Linked DNA regions of Homo sapiens: region 2 is linked to region 1. Evidence: promoter capture Hi-C in 16 types of primary human blood cells and fetal thymus (Javierre and others, 2016). All regions are on one chromosome and are shown on one strand. Each heading gives the region's core, a stretch centred on a gene start or on the middle of the fragment in contact. The rest is flanking DNA. Distances are from core to core; before and after follow the strand shown.

Region 1 (2,942 bases), core at 103-2,602:
ACAGGCAGGAAAACATATTTTTCCTCTAGAAATTTTATGAGTGAAAGAAATTACTGGGGTATGAAGGGGTGAATTGTACATAACTTTTCATTGAATTGTTCAGTTACGATGATAACTTATGGGCAGGGGAGGAAAGGAACCTTGTCAAGCAAGGTGATGACTACTAAAAGGTTAAGTAATTTGGCTGACAAGTGCAGGCAGGGCTAGTTGCCTGTTAAAAGGATCCAAGATCACTTAAAAACCCCACCAGCAAGTTATCTATTTTGTTGCTTCTGGGGAATTGCTTCTTTCCAAGATTCAAAATCTCAGTAGTCATTATTTTTCCATACAAATACACAGACAGAATAATACTCCTAAATTAAATGGTCCTTGTGTGAGTCATCCTGACAGCTAAGAAAATGCCAGTCCAATTTAGAAAACACCTGAAACTCACAGATGGTCCTACTACTACTGCTGCTTGGCAAGAGCTTTGACTGACTCTGGAAAAACCGATTAAGGGAGTAATGAATGAGTAAAATGTAGCCTTCAAAACAGAGGCGCAGGTTGAAAAATTAAGTTCAACAGGTTTAAAGAAGTCTAAACTAGAAGGGTATTCCGACATATTGGTTAAGACAAAATGACCGTACATAAGAAGTCTAAATCGACAGGTATGGAACGTGGGCAGAATATTTCAAGGGATCCACTCCTCACATCTAGTTTTATAGCAACATCTCTAATGACAAGGACCTTGAGAATTCATAGCATGTCTTTTCCCCAAAACTCTATGCCTAACACCAACAAGTTCAACAGTCCAGGCAAGTGGGTGGCTAGTTTTGCTCTGGCAGGATCTAGGTCACTGATGTGCTTTAAGACCTGCCTTGAAAGCACAGAGATTATAACAACTCCTTAGTCCTAACCATGCTGATTTTGAGAGACAAGATAGAATTTTCTGCCACTGTGCTGGGTTCCCCTCTGAAATGGAGGCAAAAATAAGTCCAGATCACTGAGCAACCCTCTTAACATTGTTCCATGATGCAAAACTAAGTAGGTGGTTTAAACCAACTCTTTTCTCTCTTATGGCTGTTTAGCTGTCACTAAAGCTTTTGCCTAAGAAGCCTCCAGGTGCGCATATGTGACATCACACAAACAAACAAACAAAGATACAGAAAAATCTAGGCAGACAATAATAATAACCCAGGATATATGACAGCTGCCTGTTCAAAGTGTCCTACCAAATCTGGGACATCTCCAGTTTGGAGATCATGGCTGGCAGAGACCTGAAGTTTGTTCATGAGTCTTACCTCAAGCAGAGGAAGTGTCCAAAGCTGGAGAGCACCTTCGATTCTCTCTGCCTTTGAAGCTGATGTGTTCTCCACCTTGCGCCTTAAACTCAGCTGCTAAAAAGCCAAGATAATTAAGTCTGACTCATCTCAGTGGTGAATTTTTTTAATGCCTCTTTCAAAATGTGATACATAATTGCTTCACTACAATTACCCAATGGCATGAATGAGCACTACAGTATCTACCTAGATAAACAGACAGTGCCACCTATGCAATAATTATCTTCCTGCAAAACACACACACACACACACACACACACACACACACACCACTTGTGAAATTGTGATGGCTACTTTACCAAAATGATTGAAAACGGTGTTAAACTGCATTGGAAGAGGAAGAATTTTCCTGTCTGGAATCATAAGCTGGTTCCTTCTGGTCAGGGTGCCTGCGGTGGATGGCTCTACTACTGCCCAGAATACCTTTGGGACTTGTGGTGGATCATCAGATTCAGTCTGAAAGCATGAGGCTTGACAATCGGGCTGACCTAGTTACCTTATCACTCAGGGTAGGACCTCAGTTGGCATCTCTCAGTGTCCGTCCGCTCCTTTTCAGAATGTTATTAATGACTTACTGTTCCAGCATTCCTTAAACCTAAGTTGGGTGGGTGGGTTCATCAACTATTATGCAACTTAACATTTTCAGATTCCAAACTCCAGCCCTACTCTCATCTCCAATAAATTCATTTTAGTTAATGTGTTTTATCTATTTTTATTTTTATTTATTTATTTTTTGAGATGGAGTCTCACTCTGTCACCCAGGCTGGAGTGCAGTGGAGCGATCTTGGCTCACTGCAACCTCCGCCCCCTGGGTTCAAACAATTCTCCTGCCTCAGCCTCCCTAGTAGCTGGGATTACAGGAGTGCGCTACCACGCCCAGCTAATTTTTTGTATTTTTAGTACAGACAGGGTTTCGCTGCATTGGCCAGGCTGGTCTCGAACTCCTGACCTCATGTGATTGATCCACCCGTGTTGGCTTCATAAGTGCTGGGATTACAGATGTGAGCCATCATACCCGGCCATTAATGTATTTTAGATGGCCAGGGATTTGATTGTATGAAGTTTTTTTTTTTGTTTTTTGGTTTTTTTTTTTTTGAGACAGTCTCACTGTCACCCAGGCTGGAGTGCAGTGGCATGATCTTGGCTCACTACAACCTCTGCCTCCAGGGTTTAAGCGATTCTTGTGCCTTAGCCCTCTGAGTAGCTGGAATTACAGGTGTGCACCACCAAACTTGGCTAATTTTTGTATTTTTAGTAGTGATGGGGTTTCACCATGTTGGCCAGGCTGGTCTTGAACTCTTGACCTCAAGTGATCCACCTGCCTTGGCCTCCCAAAGTCCTGGGATTACAGGCATGATCCACCGCACCCAGCCTGATTGCATGAAGTTCTTATGGCTTATCTACACTTTTCTGGGTAAGACCCGGTGACCAACTGTCCTGGTTTCCCAAGAATGCAGGATTTTCAGTACTAAAACCAGAACAGTCCTGGGAAAATCAGGATGATAAGTCAGTCTGAAAGGAACCACAGACGCTTTCACTTGGCATTGTCCATACTTCTCACAGCTTCTCAGGGGAGTTATACCTTGGGTTATACTTACTGATTTGAACTGAGTTTCCTTAAGG
Region 2 (2,928 bases), core at 115-2,614, 520 kb after region 1:
CTTTCTACAAATTCACTAACTGCTTCAGCCTGTCTGCTTCCAAAGTCTCTCTACCTACTCTTAGCTGATGCTGGTGGAGTTAATCTCTTCCCAAAACTGACTGACAGCTCTGATATTAGCACCACTTTTTCTTACGTCCTGATGGGCTTAGATGTCAACTAGGCGGTAGTTTAGTAGGAAAGGAACTATTAGTATGACTCGAAAGCAAGATTTTGATTTTTTTTTTCTTTCAGCAATGGTCTTCAAATAAATACCCATGTGGACAGCCTCATGCAAAGAGAATCTTTTCATACAGTTTGTGAATTTTATCGTAATCCTTAAAGGTAGTATCAGCAAATTCCAGACACCAGGACAAGCCCATGTCTAGTATTTGAAGTGCCTGGGGCAAAGCGACAAATGGAAACCTATGGGTCATATGTCTAATATTTAAAATTGACAAAATCAAGCCAGCAAACATTTAAATAAAAGACATCTGTCCACTGGGCATGGTGGCTCATGCCTGTAATCCCAGCACTTTGGGAGGCTGAGGCAGGCGGATCACGAGGTCAGGAGTTGGAGTCCAGACTGGCCAACATAGTGAAACCCCATCTCTACTAAAAATACAAACAATTAGCCAGGAGTGGTGGTGGGCGCCTGTAATTCCAGCTGAGGCAGGAGAGGCTGAGGCAGGAGAATCGCTTGAACCTGGGAGGCAGAAGTTGCAGTGAGCCAAGATTGCGCCATTGTACTCCAACCTGGGCGACAAGAATGAAACTCCATCCAAAAAAAAAAAAAAAAAAGAAAAAGAAAAAGAAAAGAAAAAAGAAAAAAAGAGTCCCAAAGAGTCTGTCTTCCTTCCTTGGCAGATACAATTTCATAATGACCTTAAAGACTCAGAATGTAAACTTCTCAGAATTCTTTGCACTCTACCCAGCACGTGGCAGCACAAGGATTGCCAGCTCTTGGTTCTCAGACCTCACCCAAGATCTTCCTTAATTCCCCACCCACTCTCCTCTGCACCACTGAGGCTCCTGGTGCGGGTATGTGGATTGCCCAGACCACGTGGCCAAGCTTCATCTACTCCCTTCCCCTCCCCAAATGGTTGTCCTTTGGCCACCCCTTGGAAAATGGACCAAGGAATTGGCCTATATAGGCTCTGAAGTTGGGTTAAGGTCCCTTTGAGGAGGGAATTCTAGAGTTTGGGTACCCAGGGCATGGCCTAAGAGTGCAATTTGTAGGGTCTTGGTGGGAATATCCCCTCACTCCTAACTCCTCTGCCTGTCAAGAGAGGTGTGGCTAATAAGGACCAGAGCAGGATCCAAGGTAGGCATCTTTCGTGGATTTAAAAATCACTTGCTTTTAAATCCAAGCTCCAAATTTAAAAGAAGTACTGGGTGGGCCTGGGACCGGGAATGGTAACCTATCATTACAATCACCAGCATACTGGGAAAAAAAACATGGATTTGCAATCACACAGGCTTGGGCAAAATCTTAGCTCTACTACTCACTGACCATGTGTTCTAAGACAAGACACTTAGCCCTCTGGGTCTCAGTTTCCTCATTTGTCAAGTGGTGACAGTAACTACCAGGGAAGGGTGTGGTGAGAAAGTCACATAATCCTCTATGCAACAAGGCAGTAAAGTGCAATGGCTTCAGGGCATACAGCCTGGATAGGACCCCAACTCCTCCACTCACTTGTGCAAGCTTGGGTAAGCCAACCTCTGAATGCCTTAGTTTCCACACCTAGGAAATGAGGCTCATAGTAGTAGCCACCTCACAGGGTTGTTATGAGGATTAAATGAAACAAGGCATACAAAGCACTGAGAATAGTTCCTGGCACACAGTAAGCTGCAAAGTATGTAGTCCATGGCCTGAAACAGAATCCACAAGAGCAAAGAGCTATCGAGTGCTTACCCTGTGCCTAGTGGGTGCTGTGTGCTGGGGACCCACAAATAAACAAAACAATCTTACCCTCTTGGGGGTTCCAAAGCAGAATTATGACTCACCTTGCTTTGATCTGTCTCACAGGTGCAAGGAGTGATGGCTGGTGATGGGGAAAAGAGGTGGCCTTGGCCTATAAGGACAGCCAGACCCTTCACATCCTTCCTCCTATTTGACCCTCATGCCAACCCTGAGGGGTGGTAGGGCAGGGATTGCTCCCAACGTGTTCCAGATGGAGAAGTCTCTGCTCAAAGTCACACGAGTGATCTGGGTACCCAAACTCTAGAGGGAAGAATTTGGGTACCTTTCCTGGAGACCCTAAGTGGTCTTTCAGACTTTTTGGATCCAGTCCAGAGCCCTGGCGTCCTTCATGATCTGGACCCTGCTGACTGGGGGTCTGCTTCCCCTCCAGTTTGCTGTCTATTTCATGGTTGCATCCAAATTCCTGTGCTTCTCTAAATACTCCTGTGCTGTCCTGCCTCTGAACCTCTGCACAGGCCTTCACCTCTGCTTGGCACTTCCTTGATTGTCTCTTTCTCATGTTTCAAGATCCTATGAGTGATATCTACTCTGCTGAGTTTTCCTTGACAGCACCCCCTTCCCTAGCTGGGCTGAGCGTCCTCCCTTGGTTCCTACAGCACGCTGCACTTACAACCATTCCAGCCCTTACCACTTCACGTTGTCATTACACATCACTTAGCTGCCCTCTGCCCCCAAACATATAGTCTGTGAGCTCCTGGAAACCAGAAACTGAGTCTCCATGCTCACTGTGTCTCCAGTATCCAGCACAATGAGCTAGGGCACAGGACAACAGGCTTAACAAATGTTCGCTGACCGGGTAAGGAAATACTGTCTGTAGGCCGGCCTTTCCTGGAGACACTTGACTGCCATCTACTGGCACACCATTGTAATACAGTCACAGGTCTACAGCCACTGCGATGTGGGGGTGTGTACGAGGCCAACCTTCGCAACTGGCATTCCTCGACTTGATTCTAACCTGGAACCTGA

Evidence for each region. Contacts are between HindIII fragments. The CHiCAGO score rates a contact against its expected background, and 5 or more counts as called.
Region 2: a fragment that was not itself captured here is called in contact with the fragment with the promoter of BPIFC in region 1 in 2 of 17 cell types (M0 macrophages and M1 macrophages); the score reaches 6.3 in M0 macrophages.

Annotation. Positions count from the first base shown.
Region 1 is chr22:32,463,094-32,466,035 of GRCh38, forward strand. BPIFC (BPI fold containing family C) reads right to left here and starts at 1,353. Exons shown (of 17, transcript NM_174932.3): 1 at 1,281-1,353. The HindIII fragment of the contact is 5,490 bases long and covers 1,078-2,942 here.
Region 2 is chr22:32,983,401-32,986,328 of GRCh38, forward strand. The region is part of intron 2 of SYN3 (synapsin III); the gene reads right to left. Among named protein-coding and RNA genes, the nearest start is that of SYN3, 74 kb to the right of the region's middle. RefSeq lists a silencer at 2,684-2,928. The HindIII fragment of the contact is 633 bases long and covers 1,049-1,681 here.